Regions from separate parts of the Homo sapiens genome. Here regions 1, 3, 4, 5, 6 and 7 are each linked to region 2. Evidence: promoter capture Hi-C in 16 types of primary human blood cells and fetal thymus (Javierre and others, 2016). All regions are on one chromosome and are shown on one strand. The core of a region is centred on a gene start or on the middle of the fragment in contact, and the rest is flanking DNA. Distances in the headings are between cores, read along the strand shown. Region 1 has its middle 15 kb from the start of TSGA13. Region 2 holds the start of MESTIT1 (MEST intronic transcript 1, antisense RNA). Region 3 overlaps CPA4 (carboxypeptidase A4). Region 4 has its middle 25 kb from the start of CPA2. Region 5 overlaps LOC105375503 (a long non-coding RNA gene). Region 6 has its middle 6.5 kb from the start of CPA2. Region 7 overlaps CPA2 (carboxypeptidase A2).

Region 1 (2,935 bases), core at 248-2,747, 210 kb before region 2:
AGAGCTTCTGCACAGCAAAAGAAACTACCATCAGAGTGAACAGGCAACCTACAACATGGGAGAAAATTTTCGCAACCTACTTATCTGACAAAGGGCTAATATCCAGAATCTACAATGAACTCAAACAAATTTACAAGAAAAAAACAAACAACCCCATCAAAAAGTGGGCGAAGGACATGAACAGACACTTCTCAAAAGAAGACATTTATGCAGCCAAAAAACACATGAAGAAATGCTCATCATCACTGGCCATCAGAGAAATGCAAATCAAAACCACTATGAGATATCATCTCACACCAGTTAGAATGGCAATCATTAAAAAGTCAGGAAACAACAGGTGCTGGAGAGGATGCGGAGAAATAGGAACACTTTTACACTGTTGGTGGGACTGTAAACTAGTTCAACCATTGTGGAAGTCAGTGTGGCGATTCCTCAGGGATCTAGAACTAGAAATACCATTTGACCCAGCCATCCCATTACTGGGTATATACCCAAATGAGTATAAATCATGCTGCTATAAAGACACATGCACACGTATGTTTATTGCGGCACTATTCACAATAGCAAAGACTTGGAACCAACCCAAATGTCCAACAATGATAGACTGGATTAAGAAAATGTGGCACATATACACCATGGAATACTATGCAGCCATAAAAAATGATGAGTTCATATCCTTTGTAGGGACATGGATGAAATTGGAAACCATCATTCTCAGTAAACTATCGCAAGAACAAAAAACCAAACACCGCATATTCTCACTCATAGCTGGGAATTGAACAATGAGATCACATGGACACAGGAAGGGGAATATCACACTCTGGGGACTGTGGTGGGGTCGGGGGAGGGGGGAGGGATAGCATTGGGAGATATACCTAATGCTAGATGACACATTAGTGGGTGCAGCGCACCAGCATGGCACATGTATACATATGTAACTAACCTGCACAATGTGCACATGTACCCTAAAACTTAGAGTATAATAAAAAAAAAAAAAAAGAAGTTTACGGATAAAAGAAAAAAAAAATAAAGTTTAAATAAAGTTTATAAATTAAAAAAAAAAAAAAAGAAAACACAACCATAAGTCAAAACATTAATTAACCTATTTACATCAAAAAAGCTTTCCAACACCGAGGTAATACTTCACACCCACTGGGATGACTACAAGTGAAAAACAAAAACAAAAACAACAACAACAACAACAACAACAAAAAACCACCAGAAAATAAATGTTTGCAAGGATGTGGAGAAATTGGAACCTCATACATTGCTAGTGGGAATGTAAAATGGTTAGCCATATGATCTAGCATTTACACTCCTAGGTAAATGCTAGCACTATATGCTGCAAATAATAAAAACAGGCACTCAAATAAGCACATGTACACACATGTTCATAACAGCACTATTGATAATAGTCAAAAGGTGGAAACAGCCCAAATGTCTATCAGTGGAAGAGTGGATAAACAAATTGCAGTATATTCATAAGCATATTTTTCAGTGATTAAAAAAAAGGATGAAGTACCGTACCTAATACATGCTATAACATGGATGAACCTCTAAAACATTAGCTAAGTGAAAGAAGCCAGACACCAAAGATCACATATTGTATGATTCCATTTGTATGAAATATCCAGAATAGATAAATTCATAAAGATAGAACACAGATTGGTGGCTGCCAGGTACTGGCAGGTTAGAGAGAAAGAGGAGAAACTGTTTAATGTGCAAAAGGTTTTACTTTAGAGTGAAGAAAATGTTTCAAAACTAGATAGATGCGGTGGTTGCACAATGCTGCAAATGAACTAAATGTCACTGAATTTAAAATAGTTAATTTAAAAAATCTTGGTGGAGGCACACACACACACACAAAAGCTTTCTATCCAGGGAAAAAATTAATGGACAGCTAATAGAATTAAAGAAAATTATTCATACCATTTAAAGCTGACTATGGGTTGATATCTAGAATATATAACAAAATCTTGCAAATTCACAAGAAAATGTCAGCAACTTCATTAAAATAATAGGCAAAAGATATGAATCAGCATTTAAATAAGGAACCAAAAGTTGATAAATATGAAGAAATGTTTAAACTCATTAATAATCAAAGAAATGCAAATTGAAACAACAGTGAAATAGGGAAGAATTAGAAAGTTGAATGATACTAAGTGTGGATGGGGCAATGTGACTTAGCTCATGTTCGCCAAAAGCCAATCTTGAGACATAGATTTATTTTCAAATAACTTATTAAGAAAGTCATCCCAGCATAAACTGGTAAGGAAGTTGGGGATGAAGGACAGAAAAATAGAAGAAACTAAAGAAAGATGTACTGTATTTCAGACAGAGTCCTAGCCTTAATCTGATCCTATAAGGGAGTTCTGGAGAGGAAATTATGCCTCAGCCTGAAAGAGTCTAAGGCAAAGGAGCTGGGCTTTCATCCTTATACTGCAGTGGTCCATTGACTACAGATGTACTGGGGGTACCTAATCTCCCAGACACTTCCTATTCTCTGGGATAAGTGGCTCCAGTAGCCCAAGGGCAATCCTTCAAAGCAGATATTTAAAAGAGGCAGCCATTGTGGAGTGCAATTTGGCATTTCTTTCTTTCTTTCTTTTTGAGACAAAGTCTCACTCTGTCGCCCAGGCTGGAGTACAGTGGCACTCTGTTGGTTCACTGCAACCTCCGCCTCCCGGGTTCAAGCAATTCTCCTGCCTCAGCCTTACGAGTAGCTGGGACTACAGGTGCGAGCCACCACACCCGGCTAATTTTTGTATTTTTAGTAGAGATGGGGTTTTGCCATGTTGGTCAGGTTGGTCTCCAACTCCATGTTGGTCAGGTTGGTCTCCAACTCCTGACCTCAGGTGATCTGCCAGCCTTGGCCTCCCAAAGTGCTGAGATTACAGGCAGCAATTTGACATTTCTCAGACAAATTATATTAAAC
Region 2 (2,700 bases), core at 132-2,631:
TTCCCACCGCACACTCACCTGCGGAGGCGATCTCGGCGCACCATGGCCGCGTTATCCCATGCCGCCCGCCGCAGCGTTGCAGAGCACCGGGCGCCGCAGAGCCCGCAGCCGTGCAGAGCTGGCCAGCAGCGGGGGCGCAGCCCGCAGCCCACAGCCCGCGCAGGGCGGCGCCGCGCCGGGCAGCTACAGCCACTCCGGCGTGCGCTGCGGCACTGCGCTTGCGAGGCGCAGCTGCCGCAGAGGAGGTGCCGGGGTGTGCTGGTTGCCGCGGCAGCGCGGAGCGAGTGGGCACCGACTTTTAGAGCCCACCCGCGCCCCGCCCCTAGCCCGCCCATCGCCGCAGAACCCCTACCGCCTGCTCCCTTGCTCGCCGCAGAGCCCCTCCCAGCCGCTCTACCACCGCCATGGCCACAAAGATGGGGTGCCCCTCTAACAGTGGCTCCTTTAGGGGGCACCTTCAGGGGTGTCGAGCCCCCTCCCCAAGACCCCGCTGCTCCCTCGTTAACCGCCAACCCTGAGCCCGAGATTCTGCTGCAGAAACCCTCCCCTGATGAGTTAAGGCCACGGGCAAAAACAGCAGACCCCTGAGTGCCCCAACTCTTTCCTTAGACCACCCACAAACCCCACAGGCCGCCCACAAACCCCACAGGCTGCCCACAAGCCCCACAGGAGGATGGCCGCTCGAACTAAGGGGCAGCAGGGCTCTGGGGTGCCGGCCGTGGCGCCTGCTCCCATCCCTCGTTCGAAGCGTGGGTACTGAACCGTGAGAGGTGGCGAGCCACGAGGGCCCTATGCGCCCTAAGCTTAACTACCGGTAACCACCAAGGGCACGAGCAAGCGGCTAGGGAGCAACAAGCTCTGTTGGACCCACCACCAAGCTAGTAAACAGATTCATGGGATGGCCACTATGGCCAAAGTTGCACAAAGTCCGGTTTCTCCCGCTCCAGCCACCGCCGCTGCGCGGGGCAGGTTTCCTTTACAGCAGCGCGACGTGGTCAGCATGCCAGACGCCTGGCCACAGCAGCGCCCTCGCAGCCCCGCTCGCTGCATGCGCCGGTCCGCGCTGCACAGAACAGTGGGCACAATTAGGAGAGCAAAGCCCCCTTTATTTACGTAAGATAGAATCACAATGCAAGGGCCCAGAGGCACAAGAAAGAGGGAGGAATTTTTCTAATCCATAATCCTTTAAAAGGCATCCCTTACGCCTTTGAAAAGTGTAGAGTATCACGAAGTGTCTGTGTTCATTTTCTGACCGTAAACTGAAATACTGGTGAACAAACGTGGGGTGCGAGCGGGTGAGCGGGGCGGCCGGCCGGTGCCCGCTGCATCCAGAGGGGGCGCTGCAGGCCTCCCTTCGGCTGCGCACGGCCCGGGCCCTCCGCGGCTCTGCAACTCTGCACCCCGAAAGGTTCGGTGCTGGACCGCGGGGCATCCAACCCGGGACCGGGGGCGACCCACGGACACTGAGGAAACTACCGCCTATAAGCCTATCATCAGAACCTCTGGCACAACACAGGTACACTTCTGCAGGGGTCTGGTTGCCCCCAGAAAAAGCACTCATGAAACAAATGCTGATTTAGCACCTACAGGGCACTAAGAACCGGGGGTGCGAAATAAATGAGAAATAGCCCCGGCCCGAAAACAACACACGGGCCATCTGGAGGGGAAGACAGACAAGAACTGCCACTTTGTAAAATTTTCCTTTTAATTTCCTAGCGACGTTTGTGGCAGTTGACCCACTCCTCCCTAACGTGTAAGGCCCTCAGAGGCAGAGCCCAAGTATTATTCACCTTTTGTAGCCCCAGAGCCCGCCACGGTGCCGGCCACAAAGCTGGCCCCTAATAAATACTGCTTGAATGAGTACAAGAATTTGAGGGCGCACAGGGGAGGAAGTAATTAAGGGGAGGGGCGAAGGGTGGTCTTGAATGATGAATAGACATTTACCAGAGAGACAAAGAACATTCCAGCCGGAGGGGACGGCTTTCGCAAAGCACCGGAGGCTCAGGGCCGCGTGTTTGGGGAAAACGGTTAGTCCTTTGAGCCGGCAAAAAATTAGGATAGCAAGAGAATTTCATCGTAGGGAATTAGGAATTTGTTCTAGAGAAAATGAGAAGCCACAGATGGATTTAAACTCTTTATGGCCTTAATTGGTTACTTAACAAAATTTAAATTAGTCTCTTTACAAGTCAAAGATTACCTATTTTAACTACCACTACCTTTTAAAGACTGAATTACTCTGCAAAATCTAAATCGGTTCTTCCAAAAAGGTAAAGGCTTTCCTATTTTAATAATAACAATAACAAAAGCCTTTGCATTATATATTTTTCATATTTATTGTTAATGGAAACTTTGAGTCCTACAAACAAATTCCACACTTTCATTCTCACCAGGCCAGAAACACCAGCATCCAAGATGAAGGCAATTTTCTGTTTATGGACTGAGTACCCCACAAAAGATCTTATTCTGAAGGCCATGGAACATGTCTACCCACATGGATCAAGTGGGCAGACTGGAGGAGAAACAGTTTAAAGGCCCTGGGGGAAGGAGGGAGCGCCAGGGAGAGCTCCTGAAGACAACAGGAATTCCAAGTCTGGCACTCGGGAGAAATCCTCCCTTCAGACATTATTGATGTCTGGCCGAGGAGTTAGGAAAAACTTCCTTGAAGGAGGGATTGAGGTTGAGATGGGCATGGAACCCAGA
Region 3 (2,717 bases), core at 202-2,701, 190 kb after region 2:
TGTACACATTTTAGCCCCTCAGTGAGGGGATATTGTGCTGAAGACTAATGTCTCCTGGAAGTAAGGAGAGAGGTTACAAAATTCAGGAGGCAGAGAACCTTGATCTTAACCCACTCTGAAACACTTACAGCTTCCAGGGAATGGTAAGCCCCGTAGTTGAAGTTATTACTGCTCCGTTCTTGCCCTTCATTGTGTTGCATTTCATCATCTTCATTGTCTAAAAGGGCCTGAAAACACACAGCAATGTTGTGAAGTGATCCATTGCAGACGCAGGTTTATGTTTTTTCTGCCATATCTTTGCATATGGGTCAGCCAAGATGGCGGCCCTTTCAGCATATCAAGCAGCACAAATGTCAAGGTTTAAAAGGGGGTTAGATTTCTTTCATATCTTTATAAAATTTTATTTCTTGGCTGGGCAGGGTGGCTCATGTCTGTAATCCCAGCACTTTGGGAGGCTGAGGCGGGCGGATCACGAGGTCAGGAGATCGAGACCATCCTGGCCAACATGGTGAGACCCTGTCTCTACTAAAAATACAAAAATTTGCTGGGCGTGGTGGTGCGTGCCTGTAGTCCCAGCTACTTGGGAGGCTGAGGCAGGAGAATCGCTTGAACCAGGGAGTCAGAGGTTGCAGTGAGCCGAGATTGCACCATTATACTCTAGCCTGGCGAAAGAGAGAGACTCCATCTCAAAAAAAAAAAAAAAAAAAAATTTACTTCTTGGGGCCCAATTTACATGGCCTCATTCAAAACCCACTTACTCCCTGGAAGCAACATATGCGCTCTTTGGCTATCCTATAGTATGAACTCTGTAGACATCAGCCCGCATCTGGTATCCAGTGCCTCTGAAATACACAGCTTGGGAAACCATTCAGAAACAAAGAAATTCTTATAACCACTCGTGCTTTGAAGGTTCCTGGCAGATGTCTGTGACATGTGAGGATGATTAATAAGCTCATAGCTGCTAACGCCATCAGGAAACTCCCAGGCCAGATCACCAATTAGTCCATAACCCACCTCGGTGAAGGAGAGAGCATGAGCCAGACCCTGTCCTGATGTTCAGATACAGGTCGTGAGGCCAGAGGACGGCATTCCCTCTGCTGGGGCTATCCATGACATTCCCCCTGTCTCAAAGGGTGCCTCTGTGGCTGGTCCCCAACACCCTCCCTCATCTCTGCTCTTGCCACCTGGAAGGACTTCAAAGAAGGAAAGAAAGAGGGACTTATGACTTAATGGCAGACGTAGGATATGCCAGGCACTGTTAGACATTTTACATACATTTAATCCTGAGTCTTCTCAACAAATCACATGACGAAGGTCTCACTATCACCATTTTACTGATGAAGAAACGGAGGCTCAGCGGGTTAATAACTTGTCCAAAGACACAGCACATAGCACTAGTAGTTAGCAAAATCAGGATTTGGATCCAAATCTGTGTGGTTCCCTGGCCTATTTATGCCCTTTCTACTACAAAATGTTGTTCCTCTAACAAGTCACTGCACTTTACTTCCATTTGCCTCCATTTCCTGGTCTATAAAATAGAAAAGGATAAAACCAGAACTTGCAAATCACTCCGGTCTACTCTGGACTGGCTGCCTGGTCCTATGCAAGAGCAGGAGGCAGGAGGCATAGTCTACCTACCTGCAGGTCCTCAATTGTCACTGCGTACTCTAAGCCCTGGGATCTCAGGAAGGATTTAAATGCCTGCAGACTGACAGATGGGACCAGGACATCCACAGGCCGATTGAAGGAGGAGGGAGATTTCCAGAAATTGAGCTGAAGGGAACAGAAATGAAACCAGGTTAAAGGACCGTTCAGGTAAAATGCACAATGAGGTTATTCTTCTAGAACACTGCCAAAAGCCAGGGTGATCCCTGAGAGGCTAGGCTCTGCCCAAGGGCAAAGTTTGCCCATTTCACAATTGTGTCTGGTTGGACCTGCCCAACAAGCAGTATCTGGCAGAGACCAAGAGTCATAAGTGGATGGCAGCTAGAAGGATGGAGCCTATACTGTTCAAGCATCCCCTCTCCCAGGACACCACAGCTGTGATGTGCTCCCTCTCTCCCATCAGCCCCCTCAATTGTATAAATGGCAAGTGGACTCCCACAGGATTATATTCAGAGACTCCTCAGAAATAAAAATAATAATGCCAGTAGAGCAAGAGTCTTCTCCCAGCAAAGTTAGAAAACACTCAGGAGAGCTAAAAAGAACCAGGTACCTTCAAGTTGTTTGAATTCACTAGTTGACTCAATTTGCTGATCTCGTCTCCATTTCTGACATTAATCCTCAAAACTTGGTCCCTGGGGAAGAAGCGAAAAGGAAAAAAGAGCAAAAGATAATGATGAGCTTTCAGCTGGCAAAGAAACCCCCAAGCCTCCTATCCCAGACGTAACCAGGCCAAAAGAAAGGAAATGGTCTAGTCTTTGGTTTTAATGTATGGCCATTAAAAATGAGGCTACATGGCAACTATGAAAAAGTGCTTATGGCATAACTTTAAGGGAAATATTAAGTGAAAGAGCAGGACACAAAATTGTATGTATGCCATGATTATAAGTATGGAAAAAGCAGATGCATTGGAAGAAAAACAGACAGCGGAAATATACCAAATGCTGACAGCCCTTATGTTCGGGTCGTGGGATTATGGATGACTTACTTTTTTCCCCCTTGTATCTGTTTTCTGTAATGTGATCATATTACTTTATAATGAAAAACACATATAT
Region 4 (2,700 bases), core at 194-2,693, 250 kb after region 2:
CTCCTGCCCCCAGCAGACAACCACTGTGTCAGTCCCCTGGTCCCAAGGTACACCGGGTTCCCGCCTTGTACCAAAGACAATCTTGAGTCTAAAATTCCATCATACAAATTCTTTTTTATATTAAGTCAGTTGGGAAGAACAAATAGATTCCACAAATAATTTGCTGTCTGCAACACCAAAATCCCTCCACGTATATTAACTATTTGTCCTGCTCAGGAGGAGGTAAATAGGGCCATCCATGGCCATGTTGTGAAGGTGTGTCTTTTCACCCTTAATCAGTGTGCTGCTCATGATGATCTCAGTCCCAGATCTATGAATGAGTTCTTCATTTATGGCGTTCCTACTGTGTAACAGGCACTGTTAAGTCATAGAGCCCTGAAGATGAGTAAGAGATTGTATCTGCCTGGAGCTCAATGTCTAGACCACAGCTGTACAGTGGAATGTTCTATATCTACACTCCCCAATGCTGTAGCCACCAGCCACTTGTGGCTATGGAGTACCTGAAATGTGCAAGTGTGACTGGTCACACTAGTGACGTTTTAAATTAATTTTAACTTACATTTAAAAACTGAAGCAGAGTGAAATATTTTTCCTTTAAATGCATACATACCTTATTGTTTTGGTAGGACAACATTTTAACTGTTGAAAATTTAGCACTCAAATTGAAATATGCTGTAAGTAGAACACACACCAGATTTAAAAGACTTAGTGTGGAAATTAGAATGTAAAATATCTCATTAATAATTTTTATATCCATTACATGTTCACATGATAATATTTTGGATATATTGGGTTAATAAAATATAGTATTAAAATTAATTGCACCTGCTCTTTTTAAAATGTAGTTACTAGAAAATTTAAAGTTACATATGTAGCTTGCAATAAATTTCTATTGGAGAGCATTGGTCTAGAGGGAAAAAAATGATATCTGCACAGTCTACTTGTATCATAATAGGTTCCTGGAAATGCATAGGAAAGCCTAATGCATAAAAATTAAACAATAGGGCCGGGCGCAGTGGCTCACACCTGTAATCCCAGCACTTTGGGAGGCCGAGGCCAGTGGATCACCTTAGGTCAGGAGTTTAAGACCAGCATGGCCAACATGGCGAAACCCCATCCCTACTAAAAATACAAAAATCAGCCGGGTGCAGTGGCGCATGCCTGTAATCCCAGCTACTCGGGAGGCTGAGGCAAGAGAATCACTTGAACCCAGAAGGCGGAGGTTGCGGTGAGCCAAGATCAAGCCACCACACTCCAGCCTGGGCTACAGAGCGAGACTCCATCTCAAAAAAATAAATAAATAAAAATAAACAATAGACTTACCTGATATAACAGGGTGAGGTAGTTGCTTCTCAAGAGCTAGACAAAAATCATAAAATTCCCAGTTTCAACCAGCATTAAATAATAACCTTTTATCTCAACTGTAAAAGTAATTCACGTGGCATATTGACAATTACAATATTATAGACATTACTAAGAAAGTTAAAATATTCCTAGAGATAATTAACAGTTTGATCTATATAAAGGCATATTGTTGTTATTGGTTACTTTTTTTTTCTTTCTTTTTTTTTTTTTTTTTTGAGACAGAGTCTTGCTCTGTCGCCAGGCTGGAGGGCAGTGGCACGATCTCAGCTCACTGCAACCTCCACCTCCCTGGTTCAAGTGATTCTCCTGACTCAGCCTCCTGAGTAGCTGGGATTACAGGCGCCCACCATCACACCCAGCTAATTTTTGTATTTTTAGTAAAGATGGGGTTTTACCATGTTGGTTATTTTTCTCTGTGTGGGATTACACTGTATTTTGGGGAGAGCTCAATTGTATTCCACTATGTGAGTATACTGTATTTAACCAATCCCTTATTTACTGCACTCAATTTTTCACTATTTCAAAGTATCTTAAAAAGAATATTCATGTATATGCTGTTAAATAAAATTTGTGGGAGGTCCTTGTTTTGGACTGAGCTCCTGCCCTAGGCCCCAACAGACCAGACCAAACCAGAATGGCGTCACTCATGCTAGGTGCCACATAATCAAACTAAATTTAGAAACCAGCTGGTTTTCCAAAGAACAAGAGATTCACAGCATTTAATCCAAAGGGGCCAGTCAACCTGAGTTGGCATGATATGAAAATCCCCTCTGCTTTAACCCTATAAGGAAAGTAACTTTGAAATGATCAATGCACTTTTTCCTCCTTGTTTTTGCTCTTTTCAGCCTTTTTCTGCCTACATAACCAACCCTCTCTGCTTGGCTCTCACCAAAGCACCTTTCTGTTTCATAGATGAGATGCTGCCCAATTCATAAATCACTAATAAAAGCCGATCAGATTTTTAAAGCTCTATTTGGTGAAATATTGTTCCTTGACAGTACCTTTGTGTGCTTTTATTTTTTTCTGCTTCTAAAATAATATTTTCATAGTAAAACCATTCAAACATCACTGAAAAATATAACCCCCCAAAAAATGATTATTGTCCCCCTCTCCTGTCTCAATCTGTACCTCTGATGATAGCAGTTGGGGCTGGGCACGGTGGCTCACACCTGCAATCCCAGCACTTTGGGAGGCCTAGGTTAGTGGATCACCTGAGGTCAGGAGTTCGAGACCAGCCTAACCAATATGGTGAAACCCTGTCTCTACTAAAAATACAAAAATTAGCCTGGCGTGGTGGCGTGCGCCTGTAGTCCCAGCTACTCAAGAGACTGAGAC
Region 5 (2,721 bases), core at 205-2,704, 160 kb after region 2:
CTGGGTTGGCAAAATTCCAGAATTCATCAAACAGAAAGATAAGGATGATGATGATAATGATAAAAATGATTCTGCGTAGTCTTTCTATAGTAACACAAAAGAAGTGCAATCTACATAGGACATTCCAGAGTTGGAACAGGCCGTCAACATTACCCAAAATTGATTTACAACAGGGCCTTTCCAAGACCTGTAAAACCCAGTGACCCCCTATGTTTGATGTGGTTGTGTTTGGAAGCTGGACCTATGAAGGTTTCAGGCAGTGATCCTTTGTCTTAATTTCGTAAAGGAAACTCGATACCTATAGAACCTGGGAAAGCTCCCAGAGAAAGAACCCCAATATTTCCAAACCCAAATAATAATAAAAATTACTTAACATCCAGCTAGTGTTTTTCTGTGATCTGTTGAGATCTTTGTTATTACATTTCATGAACAATCTGAAGCAAATAAGTCTATCACTTTAGGGAAAATGCTGAAGACCTGATTTATAAATGAATTTCCACCACTCAGTGAGAATAATTCTTTTTTGTTTGCTTGCTTGTTTGTTTTTGAGACAGGGTCTCACTCTGTCACCCAGGCTGGAGTGCAGTGGTGTGATCGTGGCTCATTGCAGCCTCAACCTCCTGGGCTCAAGCCATCTTCCCATCTCAGCCTCTTAAGTAGCTAGGACTGTAGGCACATGCCACCACACCTGGCTAATGTTTGTATTTTTTTGTAGAAACGGGGTCTTGCCCTTTTGCTCAGGCTGGTCTCAAACTCCTGGGCTCAAGCAGACTGCCCACCTTGGCCTCCCCAAATGCTGGGCTTACAGGTGTGTGAACCACCAGGCCCAGCTGAGAATAATTCTTTTATTTGTTTATTTTTATTTTTTTAATTTCACTTTAAGTTCCAGGATACATGTGCAGAATGTTCAGGTTTGTTGCATAGGTAAATGTGTGCCAGCTGAAAATAATTCTAACACATATCAAGAGCTTCTACTGCCAGGTAAATAACTGAATGCTTTAATATTCTCTTAGTTAATTCTCTTGATAAGTCATTGCAGATACTATCGTTATTCTTTTAAAGGTGAGAAACTGAGGAGCCAAGAGGTTATCTCATGGGCCAAAGTCATATGTGTCGGTGAAAAAGTTGGTCCATTCCACGGCTTTCCACCACCAGTGACCCAGAATACAGAAGTGGCTATGGTCTGCTCCCTGCCTTCAGGGGGTTACAGTCCAATGAAGGGCTCTGGTGTCAACTGGACAACAGCTAATCCCAAATATACCCCTCATTCTGTCAGCTACTTCACAAAGATCTTCTTTTGGGCCCCAAGAGAATTGGGTGCAACACCTGGAGGTGGCTCGGAGAAACCCATCCTCTCCATTACTGCAAAAAAGAGAACTCAAGACATTTTTCCCCATTATTGATAGACTATACTTTTTCCACCCTCCTTGATGTCTTACTGGTGGAAAATTCCCTACAGACTAATTTGATGAGGTATGAAAGCCTTTCAAACTTAAATGTGCTTCAGAAATTTAAGTCGCTGCCAGGCACGGTGGCTCATGCCTGTAATCCCAGCACTTTGGGAGGCCAAGGCAGGAGGATCACTTGAGCCCAGGAGTTTGAGACCAGTCTGGGCAACATGGAAAGACCCCATCTCTACAAAAGATTTTTTTTTAATTAGCCTAGCTACTCCAGAGGCTGAGGTAGGAGAATTGCTTGAGCCTAGAAGGTCAAGGCTGCAGTGAGCTGTGGTTGTGCCACTGCGTTCCAGTATGAGTGACAGAGGGGAGATCCTGTCTCAAAATAAAAAGTCTAGCCCACCTTTTTTACATGTTTTGAGGAAGTAAACAAAGAATACAGAGAATAAAGTTAAGAATAGTTTATAATACTATCTTCCCTAGCTTTCCAAATCTAGACGGGCTCCCCTACCACCCATCACTCTCCTGACAGCAGTCTGTTTTCTTTTATTTATCGCAGCTCTCCTCACCCAAATTAACTTCTTAATTTAGTTGTTTACTTGAGTACTTCCGGTCTTTCCAACTACAATGAAATTTCATGCAATAAAAGATTTGTCTTCTTCCTTGCAATAATAAAATAATAAAACTGTCTCAAGAGCCAGGTGTGGTGGCTCGTGCCTGTAATCCCAGCATTTTGGGAGGCTGAGGTAGGAGGATCGCTTGAGCCCAGGAGTTTGAGGCTACAGTGAGCTATGATTGCCCCACTGAACTCCAGCCTTGGTGACAGAGCCAGATCCTGCCTCTAAAAAAAGAAAAAAAAAACTGTCTCTAGCACATAGTAGGTACTCAATAAATGCATGTTGAATAGTACAATTTTTGTTTAAAATTAGTATCTTTGTAAACATTTTTAAAATTGGTTTTCAAGTCCATAGAAATAGATTAATTACAATCCATGGTTAGTGGCACACTCATCATTGATCTATGCATGGTCCTCTTTTTTTTTTTTTTTTTTTTTTTTTGAGACAGAGTCTCGCCGAGTCACCCAGTCTGGAGTGCAGTGGCATGATCTCCGCTTACTGGAAGCTCCACCTCCTGGGTTCACGCCATTCTCCTGCCTCAGCCTCCCTAGTAGCTGGGACTACAGGTGCCCGCCACCACACCTGGCTAATTTTTTTTCTATTTTTTTTTAGTAGAGACGGGGTTTCACCGTGTTAGCCAGGATGGTCTCGATCTCCTGACCTCGTGATCTGCCTGCCTCGGCCTACCAAAGTGCTGGGATTACAGG
Region 6 (2,700 bases), core at 44-2,543, 230 kb after region 2:
CAGGAAAAGGGGAAATCGTCCAAGTCCCAAGTTGCACGATCCTTTGGAGCTTGAGGGCCTGAAGGTGAGAAGAGACAACCTGGGTTATTAGAAAACATGTATCAAAATGAAATAAAGGAGGGTAAGAACAGTGCAAAAACCAAAAGGCCTTTTACCAGTTTGCACAAGGAGAGGCAGGCCAAAAGCCAGACTGATAATAAAAAGGTTTTACCCTTTTGCCAGCATGTCAGGCTTCTGGGTTCTCATCCCCCAAGCCCAGTCCTAAGCCAATGAGTTTAAGGTTTGGCAAATAACTTTTTCCAGTTTGGAAGATGTATCCAAGGAGAGTATATCGTAGTACAGAGACACAATTACCTATCAGTGAAGACAGCACAGAGAAGGAAAAAGGAAAAAAGAAGGCTTTCTTTTTTTTCAAAGGAGCCCCAGGGGTTCAGGATGCATTTGAAAGTGGTGCAGACTGAAGATGAATGGCTACTCATCTAGAAAGAGGGGAGCGAGGCATCCCAGGTTCCCTTCTCTTCCTAGAAAATATCCAGGGTACATAAGGGAGAGAGAAAGTGAGGTGTTCCTCCTGGCAACTGTGACAGAGTGCCACCCATGGGTGTCAAAGTGGCTTTCACTCATGTTAACGGGGGGCCTAGGGGGTGGCAATATCCGCTCTTACCAACATATGCCCTATCTCATCTGCTGTCAGTAGTCTTCAAGTTTTCTAGACCTCATTTATGCCATGGATACTAACATAACCTTTATCCATCAAACAGGAAGCTTGGATTAATCAGCAGGAATCAGTCACACTCTGCTGTGCCTTTTAACTTCCATTATCATCTGCCTCTGGATCCCTCAGACCCAGTTTTATTTCCTAGGGCTTCAATCCAAAGCTCGGAGTTGAGTTTGGGACAAAAATGTGTCTCTGGAAGGGGGAGGCAGTGTTGCATGGACTCCTTATCATAAGTTGAATGCTAAGGTGAAACTATGGAATCAAGCCCTCCTCGAACAAGGGAGAGAAAAGGATGTCCTGTGACATGCCCAGATAATTGGTGGCTATAGTTATGCTTGCTGAGATTTAGGTATGTGGGGCTTGGCTTTAGTTAACTCCCTTGGTCTTACTTTCCCAAAAAGGAAATCTCTGGTTGATGGGCATTCTATTTATTCCCATCACCTGGCAGGATTCACAGAATAATTGCTCAGAACTAGAGTATTGATCCAGATTTTTACATCATCCATCCCTTTTGTCCTTTCTGAGCTGCAGCCAGGGATTTCTGGTTAGTTCACAAGAAAAAGCAAGGTTAGTATAAAATGTAGGCAAGAACTTAAAAACAACTAATGAGTCTAGAATTTAATGACAAATATATGATAAATTTTAAAACATAATTTCTCTCTCTTCAGTCCTCATCTTGTTAAAAACATATCAAGATAGGACTGAGTTGTTTGCAAAATAGACTTTAGTCTGATACTTGGCCTGATTATTTGCATAAAATGCAACAAGAATAATTATTTTTGTATAACCCTTTTAGACTGGTTTTGTTGGAACTCTGTTCCACAAGGAATCTCAGAAAGGACTTTCTAAAGCTGAGCCCAGCCATGGGTTTGTACCTTCAAATACCTGTGAGTTGGGTAAACTCCTCCCTTCTTGAGGTCCCAAGAACATGTGGTTCCTGGGCCTGTTGGAATGCGACATTCTTTACTCACCACAGGTTAGGAACCCTGTACAGGGAATGTGTAGACAAGGTATGAGGCCAGTTTTCCCAAGGGGCTTTTATCAGCTCTGCAAGTTGAGCGTGATTCCTTAAAGGGAAGCATACTCATCCAATCAAAGCTTTGGTAAAACAACCAGTTTCTCCAATCGCATCCTGTTGCAAAAGAAAATGGATTCCTATTGCACTGAGGCAAACAACTATATTGCCATAAGTTAAAAATACTCACAACTAGTTTCCAAATCCTAGGCCTGGCACAGTGGCTCATGCCTGTAATCCCAGCATTTTGGGAGGCCAAGGTGGGTGGATCACCTAAGGTCAGGAGTTCAAGACCAGCCTAGCCAACATGGTGAAATCCCATCTCTACTAAAAATACAAAAATTAGCTGGGCATGGTGGCAGGTGCCTGCAATCCCAGCTACTTGGGAGGCTGAGGCAAGAGAATCACTTGAACCCAGGAGGTGGAGGTTGCAGTGAGCTGAGATCATGCCATTGCACTCCAGCCTGGGCAACAACAGCAAAACTCCATCTCCAACAGAAAAAAACAAAACCAAATTCCAGAGAAGCCAGGCAGAGAAAGGGAGACAAACATGCTCCAAATTTTGTTCACAGGAGGATAGCTTACTGAATTATTAAAGGCCATAAATAGTTCAAAATAAGTTTCCTTGACTCTGAGAAAACAAGGATCAGCAATTTTCCAAGCAAAAGTCAAAAAGATTATTTTAATTCTCTATTAGTTTAGTCAATTTGGTTAATTCTTTTTTTGCTTGATATTCGTGAACATTTCGGCTCTTCATGAGTCCTGTATGTTTTTCCTTTATTCCAATGTCATAATGTCCAAAGTTATCAGAAACCTCCATTTGAGAGCACCTGTCAAAATTCTATAGCTGATTATAATCATCTTTTGAAGAGGATCAAAACAAGACAAAATCGTCTGTGAATAACAAAATGTCCAGGGTAGTTACAGTCAGAAACATGATTGACAAAGAAATTTGGTTATCCCCGTG
Region 7 (2,831 bases), core at 61-2,560, 210 kb after region 2:
TGTAGGAGTTATTGGAAGAAAAGCTAGATTTAATATTATGGATGGAATTCCTGCATTGGGTGGGAGTTTAGCAAGTTCATTTTCTGGGATCTCATCCAATTCTTAGAGTCCAACAGTAGAAGATTCTATGCATCTGTAATTCCAAGGCACAAAGCCAGAAATGCAAGGAACCTCTGACACCCTTTCTGCAATGAGGAAATCATGACTACATTTGACAACAAGGCCACCTTTGGCCTTGATTTTCTCAGCAACTAGAGTGGCTCAAGACCACTGAAATGGGTCCATTGTAGGCCTGGCCAGGGCTCTCACTGCTAGAGAAACTTCCAGGGGATGAGTAGGGGTCAGGATTCCCTAGGCTCCCCATGTGATACAGACAAAACGTCACCTTATTTTAAAATTATTTAATGAAAATAATATCGGGGGGATTGACATTGAACTGTGGGCCATTGCTCAGTATTGTGCTTTAATTATTTTTCCACTACACTAAAAAAAAAAGAAGAAGAATTGTCAAAGCAATGAATGAAGTTGCCACTCATCCATATCCTGTAGCAGTTCTCTACAGTCCTGTCTTAGTTCCATAACTCTAATTAATTAATTTGTCTTACAAATACATAGTGATTACCTTCTGCGTTGCAGACACTGTGCTAGGTGTTAGGAATACTACAGTGAAAAAGACACAGCTCCTGACCTCAATTTTATCATAGCCTAGTGAGGGGGAAAAAATTTAATTCTATGGTTACTGAAACATAAGGGGTTTTCACCAGTACCTGAGGCCATAAAGGAGCCCCTAACTAGCCTGACACGGAACTCCAAAACATAAGCGCTGTCACAAAGCCAGGGCAGCAAGCTCACATTTTATATTTGAATCTGTTTTGAAAGTCAGTTTCTCCATCCTGTGTGTATGTACTTCTTTTTAGTTTTCTTTCTCGAAGCATCCATAGATGATGTAATGCTTCTCCTTGGAATAGATCCTATCCCCCTCTAGTGGCTGGCTCAGGGCTTCCCGAGTCCTCCCGCCACTGTGCAAAGTCTTGCTCCCGCTGCACAGAAGGCTAACCGGGCGACAGCTTGTGGGAAAACCAAGATGTGAGACAAAATATATTAAATGCTGCTCAGAGCTCTGTGACAGCACTGTGCTCCTGTGAAGGGAATTTAGTTAAGTGTTTTTCAAAGAGGTTTTTAAATGGCTTAAATCCTGGATGGGCTTAGCCAGCTGATGCACTGCAGGGCCATTTGAACCAGCTTGTGGGCCAGACCACGGGCTGACCATCCCTGGGGGCAAGTCCCTGCGCTCACCTCCAAAACCTGCATCCCAGTTCCGGTTAGGATCCACACCAACACAGAGGCTTCCAGATACCTTGGACCGGGTCTTCCGCCACATACGATTCTTTCAGATCCCACCCAAAAAGCACATGGAAAAAAAGAAAGAGGGTCATTCAGCCTGATCAGAAGGTTCCTTTAGAATTCTGTCAATTTCCCTAGTTCTCTGGGACACTCCTTTCCCTTGGCTTGGGGAGGTGTTGGACAGTCCTCATACAGGTTCTGCTAGGAGTTTCTCTGCCATCTCACCAAAGTGAGACATGAATACGCCCCCATCTCCTCAAATGAACGCCTGCCAAACACGTGCCATGGAACCCTAGTTCTGTCCAAGGCCAACAGCAAGAACCAAAAGCAGAAGAGAGGGTTCTGCAATGAGCCTATTTGGGGAAAATATGGAGCTAACTTGGTAAACTTACTTCAGAACTTCTAAGGATTGTTAATGCCTTGTTTTTTATAAACCTCTAAGAAACGGATACGGTGGGCGGTGTTTCCTGGTCTTGACAATGGAACCCTTGATTCATATGGTATCTCATGGGATGAGTACTAGTATTAGTATCAGTTTCTTTGAAAATGTCTTTGAAAACGCTACCGTAGTTAGCTCTTTCTAAAAATAAACTTGAAGCTGTCATTCATCTTGAATATATGTGGGGTCATGGTTGCTACAATAGTGTATTGTAATGAGATTTTAAGGGAAAAAAAAAACCATGTAACTCTTTTAAGTGATATTATGGAGGATTTCTCCCACAGATTTTAAGTAAAATGCTAGATGTACTGTACTGCCCACCTAAATCCTACTGCAATCTAATTGTCAGCAGGTAACATCCGCCTCCTCTTTTCTATCAATCCTACCACAAAAAATTGCAGAGATAATTGGAACAAATCTCCTAGATGACTCATGGTGAACACTGAGCTCTAATAGCCCAGCCTAACAGCTGAAATGGGCTCTGGCTGAGGCAACATATAAAGACATCATGTGTTGGAATAAGAAGTGATTATAACCACTTCTCTAACCCTCATTTCCGGGTGACTACTGAGAAATTAGACATTCCATTTAGAGTAAATCAAGAAAAGAATGAGTATTTTTATTTTGCTTTTGAAGTTCCTACACATCTCCTTAGGTCCTTGTTGAAGAAGGGAACAAAATCCAGGCTTACTTTGGTTTGAGAGAACACGTATCCATCAGGGTTTGTGACTGGCAGGAGGAAGATATCCAGGGCATCCAGAATGGAAGTGATGGATGGGTCCTTTCCATAATCAGAAACAATCTGAGCAAAGACAAGATACATGTCAACCTCACACACCGCTTTTGTTGGGAACACAGGACAGAATAGTAAGGTAGTGTTTTTTCCAGATGTGAACCAGGGATCACTATTGATCAAGGAAAGTCTTCTAGGCATCCAGCAGTCCGGTCTCCTGCAATGTTAATGTGTTGAATATGCTAGCGTCTATACTTTTATTTCTAATCAGAATAATTTACTTCTATTGAGTAAAAATCAGATATCATATATCTA

The links. Contacts are between HindIII fragments. The CHiCAGO score rates a contact against its expected background, and 5 or more counts as called.
Region 1: a fragment that was not itself captured here is called in contact with the fragment with the promoter of MESTIT1 in region 2 in 2 of 17 cell types (endothelial precursors and M1 macrophages); the score reaches 11.5 in endothelial precursors.
Region 3: a contact is called between a fragment that was not itself captured here and the fragment with the promoter of MESTIT1 in region 2, in 1 of 17 cell types (megakaryocytes). The highest score is 7.3, in megakaryocytes.
Region 4: a fragment that was not itself captured here is called in contact with the fragment with the promoter of MESTIT1 in region 2 in 14 of 17 cell types (megakaryocytes, naive CD4 T cells, naive CD8 T cells and 11 more); the score reaches 25.8 in megakaryocytes.
Region 5: a fragment that was not itself captured here is called in contact with the fragment with the promoter of MESTIT1 in region 2 in 1 of 17 cell types (megakaryocytes); the score reaches 6.3 in megakaryocytes.
Region 6: a fragment that was not itself captured here is called in contact with the fragment with the promoter of MESTIT1 in region 2 in 2 of 17 cell types (megakaryocytes and M2 macrophages); the score reaches 9.6 in megakaryocytes.
Region 7: a contact is called between a fragment that was not itself captured here and the fragment with the promoter of MESTIT1 in region 2, in 6 of 17 cell types (megakaryocytes, endothelial precursors, M2 macrophages and 3 more). The highest score is 12.6, in megakaryocytes.

Annotation. Positions count from the first base shown.
Region 1 is chr7:130,700,059-130,702,993 of GRCh38, reverse strand. No RefSeq gene overlaps it. Among named protein-coding and RNA genes, the nearest start is that of TSGA13, 15 kb to the right of the region's middle. The HindIII fragment of the contact is 749 bases long and covers 1,123-1,871 here.
Region 2 is chr7:130,489,658-130,492,357 of GRCh38, reverse strand. MESTIT1 (MEST intronic transcript 1, antisense RNA) reads left to right here and starts at 1,381. Exons shown (of 2, transcript NR_004382.2): 1 at 1,381-1,516; 2 at 2,391-2,700. MEST (mesoderm specific transcript) reads right to left here and starts at 273. Exons shown (of 12, transcript NM_002402.4): 1 at 19-273. The coding sequence starts at 44. RefSeq lists a silencer at 1,236-1,445. The HindIII fragment of the contact is 7,997 bases long and covers 806-2,700 here.
Region 3 is chr7:130,298,326-130,301,042 of GRCh38, reverse strand. It overlaps CPA4 (carboxypeptidase A4), which reads right to left. Exons shown (of 11, transcript NM_016352.4): 2 at 2,216-2,297; 3 at 1,639-1,773; 4 at 129-227. Among named protein-coding and RNA genes, the nearest start is that of CPA4, 6.5 kb to the right of the region's middle. The HindIII fragment of the contact is 7,030 bases long and covers 1-2,717 here.
Region 4 is chr7:130,240,031-130,242,730 of GRCh38, reverse strand. No RefSeq gene overlaps it. Among named protein-coding and RNA genes, the nearest start is that of CPA2, 25 kb to the left of the region's middle. The HindIII fragment of the contact is 4,580 bases long and covers 1-2,700 here.
Region 5 is chr7:130,327,113-130,329,833 of GRCh38, reverse strand. All of the region lies in intron 1 of LOC105375503 (a long non-coding RNA gene), which reads left to right. Among named protein-coding and RNA genes, the nearest start is that of CPA5, 16 kb to the left of the region's middle. The HindIII fragment of the contact is 3,071 bases long and covers 1-2,721 here.
Region 6 is chr7:130,259,010-130,261,709 of GRCh38, reverse strand. No RefSeq gene overlaps it. Among named protein-coding and RNA genes, the nearest start is that of CPA2, 6.5 kb to the left of the region's middle. The HindIII fragment of the contact is 1,051 bases long and covers 768-1,818 here.
Region 7 is chr7:130,276,382-130,279,212 of GRCh38, reverse strand. CPA2 (carboxypeptidase A2) reads right to left here. Exons shown (of 11, transcript NM_001869.3): 7 at 2,475-2,585; 8 at 1,297-1,387. Among named protein-coding and RNA genes, the nearest start is that of CPA2, 11 kb to the right of the region's middle. RefSeq lists an enhancer at 850-1,144. The HindIII fragment of the contact is 8,075 bases long and covers 1-2,831 here.